Regions from separate parts of the Homo sapiens genome. Here region 1 is linked to region 2. The links are contacts of gene promoters, found by promoter capture Hi-C in human tissues and cell types (Jung and others, 2019). All regions are on one chromosome and are shown on one strand. Each heading gives the region's core, a stretch centred on a gene start or on the middle of the fragment in contact. The rest is flanking DNA. Distances are from core to core; before and after follow the strand shown. Region 1 overlaps LOC124902479 (a long non-coding RNA gene). Region 2 holds the start of BTAF1 (B-TFIID TATA-box binding protein associated factor 1).

Evidence for each region. The method cuts DNA at HindIII sites, captures the fragments that hold promoters and counts their contacts. A contact is called where the count stands out against the background at its distance.
Region 1: a fragment that was not itself captured here is called in contact with the fragment with the promoter of BTAF1 in region 2 in 1 of the 25 tissues and cell types used here (dorsolateral prefrontal cortex).

Annotation. Positions count from the first base shown.
Region 1 is chr10:91,012,373-91,019,323 of GRCh38, forward strand. The region is part of intron 1 of LOC124902479 (a long non-coding RNA gene); the gene reads right to left. Among named protein-coding and RNA genes, the nearest start is that of LINC00502, 30 kb to the right of the region's middle. The HindIII fragment of the contact is 3,896 bases long and covers 1,205-5,100 here.
Region 2 is chr10:91,921,580-91,928,962 of GRCh38, forward strand. BTAF1 (B-TFIID TATA-box binding protein associated factor 1) reads left to right here and starts at 2,191. Exons shown (of 38, transcript NM_003972.3): 1 at 2,191-2,511. The coding sequence starts at 2,498. RefSeq lists enhancers at 933-1,466, 1,814-1,923, 2,534-2,733 and a silencer at 2,174-2,473. The HindIII fragment of the contact is 3,578 bases long and covers 960-4,537 here.

The DNA of each region.
Region 1 (6,951 bases), core at 1,903-4,402, 910 kb before region 2:
GCATGTACAGCCATGGAGGAGAAGGAAAAGGCAGGAAAGACCTTCTAGGCAGAGCAAGGAGCAAATGCTAAGGCTCAGACTTAGAGAGTAGGGTTTGCTTCAGGGCATTGAAATGTTTCAGTATAGTTGGAGAAAAGTTGGAGGATGACAACAACTGAAGCTGGAATGGTAGGTAAAGGAACAGATCATGAAGGATGATGTACACCATGATGAGGAACTATGTAAGACTATGTCTTTACATCGGGGTCAGTGGAAAACAATTGAAATTAGTGGCTTGATCAGGTTTACAGTTAGGAAGATACTGCTCACTGAAAAAAGAGGACAACGTACTTTCTAGAAGCTACCAAATGACTAACTGCCTAGTCATAGGGGTTAAGGCAGCAGTTCCCAACCTTTCTGTCACCAGAGACCAGTTTCATGAAAGACAATTTTCACGGGTGGGGGATGGTTTCGGGATGATTCAAGCACATTACATTTATTGTGCACTTTGTTTCTATTATTATTACATTATAATATATAATGAAATAATTATACAACTCACCATAACGTAGAATCAGTGGGAGCCCTGAGCTTGTTTTCCTGCAACTCAGCGGTCCCATCTGGGGGTGATGGAAGACAGTGACAGGTCATCAGGCATTAGATTCTCACAAGGTAGTGTGCAACCTAAATCCCTCTCATACACAGTTGACAATAGGGTTTGTGCTCCTATAAGAATCTAATGCTACCTCTGATCTGACAGGAGGTGAAGCTCAGGTGGTGCGAGCAATGAGGAGTGGCTGTAAATACAGATGAAGCTCACCTGCCACTCACCTCCTGCTGTGTGGCCCAGTTCCTAACAGGTCACGGACCAGTACTGGTCTGTGGCCTGGGGGTTGGGGACCCCTGAGTTAAGGTGTTAATGGCTTCTTCTTTCAGTCACTAAGCATTTAGTGAACACTCACTATATATCAGACACTGTGACTGATCCTTGTAAGATAAATAAGCTTCATGCCCTCCAAGAGCTTACAGTCTAATGAGGGAGAAAAACATCTTAAATAATTATGAGAAGTATTACAGAAATACAGATGAGGGAGGAACCAAGTAGGAGAAGATGGAAGATTCCACAGAGGACATGACATTGCCTTGGATTTTGAAGGAAAAATAAGGACATGCTAGATAAAAGAGCAGAAATACAGCATTTCAATTAAAGGGAGCACCATTTGCAGCAGCATGTGGACATCATGTTCTTGGTGGTCTCAGAGAATAGAGAAGAGTCTGATGTAGTTGGGCCACCAGGTTTACAAATGGGTCGAAAATAAGGTCCTAGGGCCCGATTCTAAAAGACTTTGTGAGTCTTGTTGGTATGAGGCATCTCCTCTAGGTAACAGGGAATCATCAAAGGTTGTTAAGAGAAATGGGGGTTGATAAGATAAGATTCATGTTCAAGCTTTAAAAAATTATGTCACAAATAGAACTGAAGAATAGAGACTGGCAACATGGAGATTCATTATGAGGCTGAGGTCATAGTTCGGGTGGAAGCTGACCAGAACTTGAACTAAGAGAGAGGCAATTGGGACGAAGAGGAGCAAACCAATCCTGGGTCGATATACTCCATCCTAGAAAACATTTTCATGTTAAAGCATTCATTAGTGCCCAAAAGGAGCTTCAAAACTAAGTTTCATTCATCTTTCTCAAAACTTTGTTAGAGTCTGTTTAACTGTGTTAAAATTCATGCCCTAGTGGAGCAGACTTTTCTCATCCCAAATTATTTTGGAAAGTATAGGCTGAATTGCTAAGGAAAATGCTGAAAGGGAAGTGTGAGGACATGGGACAAAGTGCAAGTAAACACTCTGGGATGCAGGAAACGAGCTTTTCAAAGAAGAAAGGGCAGGAGCCTGGGGTAGAGAAGTGGAAAAGACCTGAGTCTGAAAGAGATGTGACACCTGGGAGGATTTTTCTTTCTTCTTGTAATTGAAGGGGAGAGACAGAGGAAAATTCTGGAAGCAAAGGCTTAGAGGTTCCCAAAGGCAAAGATCTCCAGGAGCCAGCAGCAGGTGACAAATAAATAAAGCAGACTTGCTTTAAGAACATGGAGGTGATCTCAGCAATTTGGGAGGCCAAGGCGGGAGGATCATTTGAGCCCAGGAGTTTGAGACTAGCCTGGGCAATATGGTGAAACTCTGTCTCTACCAAAAAATACAAAAACTAGCCAGGTGTGATGGCACATGTCTGTGGTCCCAGCTATTTGGGAGGCTGAAGTGGGAGGATCAACAGAGCCTGGGAGGTCAAGGTGGCAGTGAGCTGTGTTCATGCCACTGCACTCCAGCCTGGGTGACAGAGTGAGAGCCTGTCTCAAAAAACAAACAAACAAACAAACCCATAAAACAGACTGGGCACCATGGCTCAGGCCTGTTCCCAGCATTTTGGGAAGCCGAGCAGGCAGATCACCTGAGGTCAGGAGTTTGAGACCAGCCTGGACAACATGGTGAAAACCCATCTCTACTAAAAATACAAAAATTAGTCAGGCATGGTGGCAGGCGCCTGTAATCCCAGCTACTCAGGAGGCTGAGGCAGAAGAATCGCTTGAACCCAGGAGGTGGAGGTTCCAGTGAGCCAAGATCACACTATTGTATTCTGGCCTGGGTGACAGAGTGAGACTCTGTGTCAAAAAAACAAAAACAAAAACAAAAACCACAAAACAAAACATGGAGGCCAGGTGGCAGAGGCTCATGCTTGTAATCCTAATGCTTTGGGAGGCTGAGGTGGGAGGATCGCTTGAGCTCAGGAGTTTGAGATCAGCTGGATAATACAGTGAGACCTCGTCTCTATTTTTATTTCTAAAAAACTTAAAAAAATGTATGGAAGTGCATGGTTTATGAACGGGGCAGATTCCCACAAGCTCCAGCCAACTGTTGTCATGTGGAAATGCAATGTTCCTGATCTTGTGATTTTTCAAGAGAAGTCAGAAATCTAGATATTCCTGTAAAATCATCCACTGTTCTTTAATGTGGGCAACAAATTCGTTTTTTTTCTAAACAGCAGGCTGGCCAAATAAAACATATGTGGCTGCATTTGGCCCTTGGGTGGCCAATTTGTAACCTCTGGTCTAGAAGGAATGGTAGGTTATTTGAATAAATCCTACCAGCCATGGTGGGTATGCAGCCTACTTGTGCTAGAATGTAAACAAGTCATGGGAGGATACCATTTCCCAGAAAAGCAATTCCCATTAAATCCACTGGCTAAGTTTGGAAAGATAATACAGAACGTACTGATATGTAAGTTTAGTTTTGCTTTGTTGGGAAAATTTTTATGAAGCCGAGCTAGAAGGAAGCAAACTGATCTTCCCTGAAGTCATTTCTATTGTATATCTTTAAGAAGTCAGGGTTGAGGAGAGAGTCACTTTGGAAAAGATCATAGCCTAATGTCTTTTTCAGGAACTAGCACTGGAAATTAAAGTCAATTATTTCAACCTGTATCACAGACTGTATATAAAGAGTTCCCATGAATCAACAATGAGACAACATCCAAAGGAACATGAACAAAGAATATGCATAATTCTCAGAAGAGGAAATATTATAGGTTTCTACCTATAAAAATGCTTGACTTCACTTAGCATGTGAGAAATCCAATTTATAAACAATGTTTTTCACCTATAATATAGGAAAAGTTAACAAGAACTTCATATATATAATACACTGTGTAGGCAAAGGTGTTGGGAACTTGGCACTGTCATACATTGGTGGTGAAATTTTAAGTTGGCACGACTGCTAAGGAGTGCAAATTGGCAGGATCCATTAAAATAAAAAATACATATATGCCTTGACCTAGACATTTCTAAATCTAAGAATTCATTACCTACCCTTATTCACACTTGTGAAAGGACATATATATACACACATGTGTATATAAGAATATTCATTATAGCATCATTTATAATAGCAGATGATTTGAAATAATCTAAATGTCCATTAATATGGAAATAAAATAAATGATAATAGACCCAAACAATGGCATCCACTGAAGCAATAAAAAAAGAAGCAGCTCCATACCTACTGAAAAGAACGCCTCTCCTATATATATATATTAAGAGCAAGGTTAAGAAGTGTAAATTGTATAACGCCATTTGGTATTGCATAAACATATACTTAGATATGCACAGTGTATCTCTAGAAGGCTTAAAAGCATCTTTTAGAAAGGGATGCCTCTGGGGAGGGCTGAGTGGTGGGAGACAGACTTGGGAAGGAAAGGTTTTGCTCTATACTCTTCCATATATATATATACACAATAATACATAGATAATACATTATGTATTGTATAATGTGGTAATATGCATAATATAATGTATATAATTTATTTTTATATCTATATTTACATTAATCCATGAATTTTTTTTCTTTTGAGATGAAGTCTTGCTCTGTCACCCAGGCTGTAGTGGAGTGGCGTGATCTTGGCTCACTGCAACCTCTGCCTCCCGGGTTCAAGTGATTCTCCTGCTTCAGCCTCCTGAGTAGCTGCAATTACAGGCACTTGCCACCACGCCCAGCTAATTTTTGTATTTTTAGCAGAGACGGGGTTTCACCAAGTTGGCCATGCTGATCTCAAACCTCTGACCTCAGGTGATCCACCTGCCGCAGCTTCCCAACCCATTAAAATTTTTAAGAAAAAAAGTTATACTAACATTTTAAAAAATCACTAACTTATTGTCAAGCCTCTCTAAAATCTCCTTTCATTTTTGAATTCCAAGGTCAAAGTTTAGGTTCAAATTTTTACTCTTACTTTTGAATTCTGAGGTCAACCTTTTGAGTTACTAGTAAGTCTACCAAAATTTTAGCTGTTGAACTAATTGCAGTTATTTTTCTTTTGCTATCTCAGATTCGGATTCAAACCGCCATTACTTTTTCTATCCAACATGCTGGTAAAAGCACATCCAAACCCACAAATGTGAAAAACAATGAGACCTAGAAATATAATTCATCTGTAGAAAAGTTCTGAGTCAGTTCCTTTTCAGGGAGTCCAGACGGTTCCTGAGCTTCTCTCTGAATGATTTCTCTGAGTCAAATAAAATGACAAGGCAGGCATTTAAATGACAAGAAGCCAACCCTGGGTCTGGTGTGCTGGGAGTGGAAAATTCTGTGAAGTTTTTATGTTCCCACTGTGTACAAGCACAGATTATCTTTCTCAAGCAGACACAGAAGCATATAGAAGACCCAGAAATTCCATTAGTTTCACAGTCTAGTGCCAATAAATTTAATAAGAAATGGAAGCAAGGTTATTTATTTGTTTTACAGCATTCTAAAGACTGCACAGAAAGAAACTCTTAGAAGAGTTTAGCTCAGTAATTGACTAAAACATTCGTGATTATTCACCAAATCCCCAAATATTCCCTGAGCACCTTCTAAGTACTAAGTCACTGGGCTAGCCACCATGGTAGGATTAAAATGATGGGTAAGGAGTTTCTAATTTAATTCCATGCTTTCCAAAGACTCCTCTGAGGAGCACTAAAATCTGAGGAATATTAATATTATTATAAGACAAAAAGATTTTCTTGGTAATTAAGAATCAGAAAATAATCAAGCTGTTTTAATTGGCACAGCACTTTTCAGATCTTTTACTATGCTCACACACAATGTGAACCTTCTAGAGAGGGGTATGGTATGCAGTCTTTCCTAAAGCATACCCCAAATAATTCTAAAATTATTCAAACACAATTAACTTTTTTGTTTTGGGCAGCTGCAGGAACTAATATCTATGTAACATACATTAGGAAAATAATAACCTTAAATGCCGAGACAAACATAAATACATATGTGAAAACAAAACTGTCCTAAAGCAAACTGGGGTTAACTGCCCAAATACTTGACCTGGATGTAAGAAACAGCTTGAGTTTAAAAGATAGCAGTGGTCTAGAGTTATAGAAGCTGGGTGGAGCAGGAGGAGCTGGGTCTAAGCCTGAAAAAAAGGAAAGTGTCCGTCAAGGAGGAGAAGCAGCTGAAAAGTGATGGAGCTATTTGGAGGATGAAGGAGACCAGCCAGCCAGAGCAGAGGGTTCATCATATAGGAAGGACAAGGAGTTAAGTCTAGATAGGACCAGATTGAAACAGGTCATGACTGTCAGGTTAGGAAGTCTGAACCTTACCTTGCAGGCAAGAGGGAGGCTTTAAAAGCCTCTAAGCAAGATACTGAAATGTTCAAAGTGGTCTTCTAAGAAAATCACTCTGGTGCTCATTTGAAGAAAGGCATTGGAGTATGAGGGTGAGTGGAGCGGGAAGAGAAGATGGAAGCCTGGTGCTGACTGTGAGATGAAGGTCTAGAATAGGGTTAGTGCACAGACTAAGAAGAGCATTTTAATGAAGAATTGACAGAAAGGGAAGACTGGATGTCAGAACTGTATAAATGGGTCATGGGGTTTGGCTTCTGGGTGATAAAGTACCATTTTTATGGGGAGTATAGTTTTTGAGATGTCATATTGCATCTTACTCCTTCCCCATCTCCAACCCCCCACTAATTCCACAAAAGCAGGGAGGCCTTTCCTATTTCTTTGTCTGAAGAGCTGTCAGCTCTACCTGTCTTTTTTAAAAGATGAAGCTCACCAAGGGATGGTGGTGGATATCCCAGAATGATGACCAATAATAGCTGAGAAAGGAGTTTTTTCAATGTCAGGGGAAGAGAAGGCAGCAGAGGTGGATTTGAAGAGACTAGGAAGAGAGTCCCATGAGAAGCGTGCACCCGTCTCAGCTCCCAGCTGCCTTCCAGGAAGGTGGCTAAATTCAGAGAGGAGGGCTGTAAGGTGCACCTGGAGAAAACTAAAGATAGGTCCTCCCAGGAGGAGGAGTTGAAGATTCCCATGTCTCACATTTAGAAGTGTGTATGGATAAGGAGCAATGGAAATGCTAACTGCTATGTGAATATAATCCACTTTGGAGAGCCATTTAGCTCTAGCTAGTAAAACTGAAGATTCCCAGAAAACATCTA
Region 2 (7,383 bases), core at 941-3,440:
AAGGATTTAAAAACAAGCCGGTCCAATATCAATATATTTGATTATTACACTATCCTTTACAAATCTACACCACCAGTCCTTTCCTCTCTTCTAATGCCATTTAGACTATATACCCAATTATCTGATAATAAAAAGATTTAAAAAATATAACTAAGATCATTTTACTCACTTGCTTAAAACTCTATGACTTTCTACTTCATATGGAGCAAAGTCCAAATTCCTTACGATGATCCCTTTCTACTTCTCCCATCTCATTTCCCAACAGAGCAGACTTCTCTTACGCCTTTGCACTACGTATACCCTCTTCCTGGAAGGCTCCCAGATTGTCACACATTTAGCTACCTCTTGTCATTTAGGGCTCAGCTTAAGCTAATCCTGTTTTTCCCTGATTTACCCAGTAAGAGTAGGTCTTTAATCATACCATTAATTCCATCATTCTCTTTACATAGCACATAAATATATTTTCAATGTTTATCTATTTTCTTTTTCCTTTCCTTTTAATGTAAATTCAACCAGAGTAGGCACCTTGTCTGTTCTGGTTTCTTCAGAAGTTCCAGTCTCTCATATGGTAGGTGCTTAATTTTGGCTAAATGATTGCTGTACACGATCAGTAAAAAGTATCTGCTTGTTATTGAATGGTGGGAGATAAACTGATGAGGCAAGTAGGTGACTAAAGTGAAAATGTAAAGATATCTTGAACATCAACTTGATTAGATTTTAATAGCATGAACACCGCCAAGCAGAGTTTCTGATACAGAGAGGTGACAAACATTTGTTGAATGACTGGACAATAAATATTATTACTAGCTTGAATCTTGAGGCAAATTACTTAACCTTTCTGAGCTTAGTTTCCTTGTCTACGAAGATTAAAACTAACTTTTCAAGGCTTCCCTACAAATTATATGGATAATGCATGTCATGTGCCCAGCACACAGCAGGTACTTGTTAGTTTCTTTCTCTTTACATACATATATACTACTTTATGGTTTACAAAGTTCTTGTAAGCTCTTCTAGATTCATGACCTCATTTTATTCCCACAATCTTCTGCAGTACTTCTCATTAGCCTCATTTTACAGATGAAAAACAGACTCAAGGATTGAGACATAGCCTCTTCAGGTAATGAGAAGCCAATGGACATGCTTTATAAGCATAGGAGCGACATGATAAAAAGCAGTGAGGTTTTTTGAAGATTAATCTGTTGGCCTATAAAATGGGCTGAACTGAAAATTGGAGAAATATTATTTTGACTACTAGCATAAAAATCAAGTTTAAGGGCCGGGCGCAGTGGCTCACACCTGTAATCCCAGCACTTTGGGAGGCCGAGGCGGGCAGATCACTTGAGGCCAGGAGCAGGAGACAAGCCTGGCCTACATGGCGAAACCCCGTCTCTACTAAAAAATACAAAAAATTGGCCCGGCGTGGGGCTCGTGTGCCTCCCAGCTACTCGGGAGGTTGAGGCACATTTAGAATCGCTTGAACCCGGTAAGCGCAGGTTGGCAGTGAGCCGAGATCGCGCCACTGCACTCCAGCCTGGGCGACAGAGCGAAACTCGGTCAAAAAAAAAAAATCAAGTGTAAGATGATAAGGGCCTGGCAGAAGTGTTTAAAAGCCTAATGAACTTAAAAATATTGAAAAGCCAGATAAGTCCCCCAAAGGAACAAAAATTTAAAAATGGTAGTTTTCAAATCTGGCTGGCTGAGAAAATGATGGTACAAACAACATAAACAATTGAGAAATCAAACTTGGCAAAATCGTTGGTCAGAAGACCTTCTCTCCAATACCTAGGCAGAACTTCTGGCAAATAATGACAAACATCTGAGCCATTTCTTCAGTGTCATAGCGACTTTTTGCTTTCACTCCTCCCACTGGCTTCACCACCTGGACAAGAGCATGTTAAGGTCCTTCTGATCTTGCTTCCTAGATGCAGTACGGTGGGAAGCAGAATCTGGGTAGTGTGGAATTAGAAACCAAGCTTTCGAAGTTCCAGGACTTGGACTAAATCGCCTTTTTCCTTCTCTGTCAAATAAGGGGACCCTTACTTCACCTCCTTCCCTAGTTTTAAGACTAGACACCCTCTCCACATCAGCACAAAGCGCTTTTATTTAGGCGCGTGCCGCCAAACCAAAGGCGCTCGCGCCGAGCTAAGCTCCTGTCGGTGAGCTTACGTCACTTCCGGCGCGCTGACGCTCAGTTGTGCGTGCCGACGCCCGCGTCAGCAAAGAGCGGAGCTGAGGGTACCCGGTTTGAAGTCGTGCGGGTCGGAGGACTGCCGCCTCCGCTACCGTCTTGGACCCCTGCTTACCGGCCGCCGCGGGGACGAGCTCGGGTAGGCGGCAGGGCAGATGCCCGAGGGCCTGCGCTGGAACGCCCCACGCCGCACCGGCCGCTCCCCTGTGCTCCGCGGCCTGGGCCTGCGCCGCTCAGCTCTCTGGAAACTAGCGCCTCAGCTGCGCGGCGCGTAGGTCGCGGGGAGCTCCGAACCGCCGGCGCCCGGCCATGGCGGTCTCCAGGTGGGTCTTGCTCCTGACGAGCAAACTGGAAGGCGATTCAGGGAAGGCATGGTCTCCTCTTAGAGCCCCCACTCCTAGAGAAGAGCGGTTCTCATTGTCACTGGGCTCTGGAGCTTTCTTCAGTAGACTTCGGAGTTCGCCCCGTGGTCGGCGGGGGTTTGGGCTCGGGTTACTCCTGGGTAAATCGGTTCAATAATGCCTTTTTCTTGTTAATAGACCCCTTGGCACGTTAGAGCTGTTTTTTCTCTTTCCTCACCATGTTTCTGTTCTCTGGTTTCTCTTCCCTCTTTCGATTCTAGGGGAGTCTCTTATCTTTCTCAGTATTCTAAGGCTGGTCCCTAACCTCCATTTCATGGGAAAACTTGGTAGTTACTGTCGATGGAGGGGAAACCTGAATTACTATTATCTAAGAGACCGTCTAATTATGTTACCAGTTTTAATTTACGTTTTTAGGGGTATGTTCTTTCCTGAGATGTTTTTTAAAATTAAGTATAATTTCTCCTTTTGTTTGGCAGTAAACATTCCAACGTCAGCGTTGTAACCTTAAGCCAATTATCGTATTAGCATCATTTTCCGTAACTAAGGCGTGGAAGATAAATCACAGATCTTATATTCTTTTGAAATATTGCCTGTCAACAGGAAAGCCCAGGAAAACTATAGAAAAACTAACGACATTTATTTGTATAGCTATAGGAGAAACATTACTTTTTCCTCCGGTATGATAGAATGGTTGGAAAGCTTTTGTAAGCGGAATTTGGTGACCCTCTGTACATGTAATTAAGGGATAGTTCCTCTGTGATAGTGATCGGATGGATTCACCAAGTTCCTTAGAGTTGATATGGTAACTTTTAATGAGAATTGGATTCTTTTACCATATAGACTGAAGGAATAAATGATGAAAACAAATAGTTTTCATTTTTTTATAATTAACTGAACACATTCTTTGAGCGTATTAAGTGCACAAGTTTTATCTGTTTTGCAAGGGAAAGGATAACCCATTCCTTACAGACTCCCTAGATGACTGATGAAATAGTGTGTGGGAGAAGCCCATGGGAGTTGGGTGAAGGGGGTTGCTAGGTACCGTAGTATGGGGCATCTGATTTTTATTTTATAATCTATTCAATGTGAGGAAATTTTTTTTTAAATAAAACTGCCTTGAGAGAATACAAGTGACATTTTACATTTTTGCAAATATAGAAAGGTGTATCTTCTAATTTGTTACCTCCCATATAAATGCATGAATATATACATTGTAAATGCATTGATATGTAAACTTAATATAACATTTATCAGGTAATAGTGTTTAAGGAGATGAGTACTTCTTTTCTTAGAGCAACCTGTGCATTTTCACAGGATTGGATGTAGCTTTATAAAGACAAAATGAAAGTGTTTAAAAAGAACCTAATTTTCGGGCAACGCTAATCTCTTTTTTTTTTTTTGAGAAGGAATCTGGCTCTGTAGCCCAGGCTGGAGTGCAGTGGCGAGATCTCGGCTCACTGCAAGCTCCGCATCCCGGGTTCAGGCCATCCTCCTGCCTCAGCCTCCCAAGTAGCTGGGACCACAGGCACCCGCCACCACACCTGGCTAGTTTTTTGTATTTTTAGTAGAGACGGGTTTCACCGTGTTAGCCAGGATGGTCTCGATCTCCTTACCTCGTGATCCGCCGGCCTTGGCCTCCCAAAGTGCTGGGATTACAGGCGTGAGCCACCGCGCCCAGCCAACACTAATCTCTTTACGGAATTTTAGGACAGTTAATATTTCTCAATGACTGAGTGGGTTTTGAAGGTACTGTCTTTTGTTCTGGATGTTGTGTTTCAAAGAGTAGCACTCTTTTTCTGTGGATTTTTTTCTCGTTCACTTTTTTAAAAGCCTGTCATGTTTTTATGGAAGAGCTATTTCTGTGCTTAGTTTCCTTGGGCTCAGTAGTAAGCCCAAGGAAAACATTTTGAGACACTTGTGTGTTTTGGGGATAGTGTCAATTCTTGACTTTTTCACCTGTGGATTTCTTTGAATGGCAAATTTTAGTTTCAAGCTGGCCTTCTCCATGCACGAAGCACAGTTCTGTGCTAACTAAACTTCCTTTCTCTCCTGTTGGTGCAGACTCATTTTAATACTATTTTACGTAAAATAGGTGGAAAATAGCCCAGGAGATAAAAATCATATGCTAAAATCAAATCTAAAATATTTTTTGCACTGTTTATTTCATATGCATAACTGAAGAGAAACTGTAATATTTTTAGGACATTTCCACCAGAATTTCCAACAGATGGGAAATAGTAAGTTAGTACCATTATTCCCTCAATTGTCTGGTCAAGAAATTTGAGAATGTTCTTTGACTTCCCTTTTCCTCCCACACCCCATGTCCAGCCAGTTACCAAATCCAATCCTGTATATTCTGCCTTTCTAATCTTTCTCCAGCTGATCATTTTTCTTTCTATACCAGTTACCACAATCCTAGAACATGCCACCATCTCTAGTCCAAGACACCTTTAGAGAGACGCTTCCCTTTTGTCACTGTAAAGCTACATCCAATCTTTTGAAAATACACACTCAACCCTAGGAAAGGAAGTACTCATCTCCTTGAACATTGTATCACCTGATAAGTCTCATAGTAAGTTTATGTATCAATGTATTTGGTATTTGGACATGTTTAGTACAAGACAGGAGCCTCTCTCCTTTTCCTGCCTTCCATGGCATCTCATTTCAATCTGTTCTTCGCTTCAGTCATATTATTTACTGATTTGAAGATTTGAACATGAACATGGTAATCTTTCTAATTAATACCTTTAGTTGTTTCCTATTGCCTTAGGATAAAGTCCACATTCTCAAACAAACATATCTTACCAAGTCCTTTGTGATCTGGTTCCTGTGTCATCTTTTTAGATTCATCTTGTGTCAACTTCTCTGTACTTCCCCTTCACCTTCTTCTCTCTTCTATCCTCCACCCTCCCCAGAATTCATTTTGTTACCCCCTACTGTTTATCTTTGGAACACTTCTTAGCCCCATCTCAGGTATGGCTAGTTCTGACCTTAGTGTGTTTTTTTGTTTGATTTTTTTTTTTTTTGAGACAGAGTTTTGCTCTTGTTGCCCACGCTGGAGTGCAATGGTGCGTTCTTGACTCACCATAACCTCCACCTCCCGGGTTCAAACGATTCTCCTGCCTCAGCCTCCCGAGTAGCTGGGATTACAGGCATGCACCACCACACCCGGCTAATTTTGTATTTTTAGTAGAGATGGGGTTTCTCCATGTTGGTCAGGCTGGCCTCGAACTCCTGACTTCAGGCGATCCACCTGCCTCAATTTTTTGATCTAAGCTTATATATTACCTTGTTCAGGACATTTTCTCTGGTTTTACTTCATCTGAGCTATTTGCACCAATACATATTCCTATCAGTCATAATATTTATATTTTGTAATTGGTTAATTGTTCTCTTACTTGCTGGATTAACATAAACTCTGAGAGAAGGAAATGTGTCTTTGATTTTTCCATGCTCAGAATGCCTGGCTCCTAGTGGGTGTTCAGTACATTTAAAAAAAAAATGAATGAATGATTTTGCTTCTTGCTTTGGTACCTTTTGAGTTGCCATATGAGTTGCCTCATAAAGCAAAATAATGGTATTCAAAGATATAACAATTATTATTTAAATTATTCACAAGAAACACTGAAAGCCTGTAACATATACTAATTTGTTTTTTGCTGAGGTTGACTTTGTGGAAGCAAGTCAAGTAACTAGTGAATGACTAGCTGACTTTCCAGCATCCGCATCTTAGGGACAACATTGTTCTCTACTCCTACATTTGTAGGAGTATGATTTTACCGTAATTTGTGCATAGTAGACTATTTCCAGTGTTTTTCAGTGAGTACTTTTGAGTTTAACTGCCTTTTTTCTTTTTTTTTTTTTTTTTTTGCAGTAAGGAAAACTTTCACTATAGCTTTTTAATATTGGCCATTTTCTAATTTTAACAATCATCGGAATATTTTTTTCTTTTTAAAGCTATCTCCTATAGGAAGGCAATTAGAATAATTTTTGAAGTTTATAATATAGTAAATTCTGTGATAGCATGGCCATTTATAATGCAAAATTGATATGATGTATTTTATGTGGTCAAATTTTTTAGACCCTGCTTAATAGGCTTGGTTTTACTGTACTTTCAGTTGTAAGAATGTGGCAGATTATGAAATGCATGGCCAACTCTTGATCTGTAGCTGAATTACATCTTGCAAAAATAACTTTGTTACTCTCTAAAATTGTAAATACAATCATAGCATTTGAAGTTCTCTGTCAAATCCAGTGAAATATCACTGGAAAATGATATGACTCTTTTAAACCCTTAGTAAAAGACCCAAAATCCAAATGTAGGAGTAGAGAACAATGTTGTCCTTAAGATGCGGATGCCGGAAAGTCAGCTAGTCATTCACTAGCTACTTGACTTGCTTCCACAAAGTCAACCTCAGCAAAAAACAAATTAGTGTATGTTACAGGCTTTCAGTGTTTCTTGTGAATAATTTAAATAATAAGTGTTATATTTTTGAACACCATTATTTTGCTTTATGGGGCTTTTTCTCATTATCATGTGTTACTTAGTTGGGATTTTGCCACCAACGGTAAAAGCAACCTTTGCGATCGCAGCACTGCACTCCAGCCTGGGCAACAGAGCAAGAATCCATCCCCCCCCCCCCCGCCCCCCAAAAAAAGCAACCTGAGATGGATTTCTTTGGCATTTTTGTTGTTTGTTTGTTTGTTTGTTTTTGGAGGCAGAGTCTCACTCTGTCCTCCAAGCTGGAAAGCTGGAGTGCAGTGGCACAATCACGGCCTCAAGTGATCCTCCCACCTCAGCCTCCCCAGTTGCTAGGACCACAGATGCATACC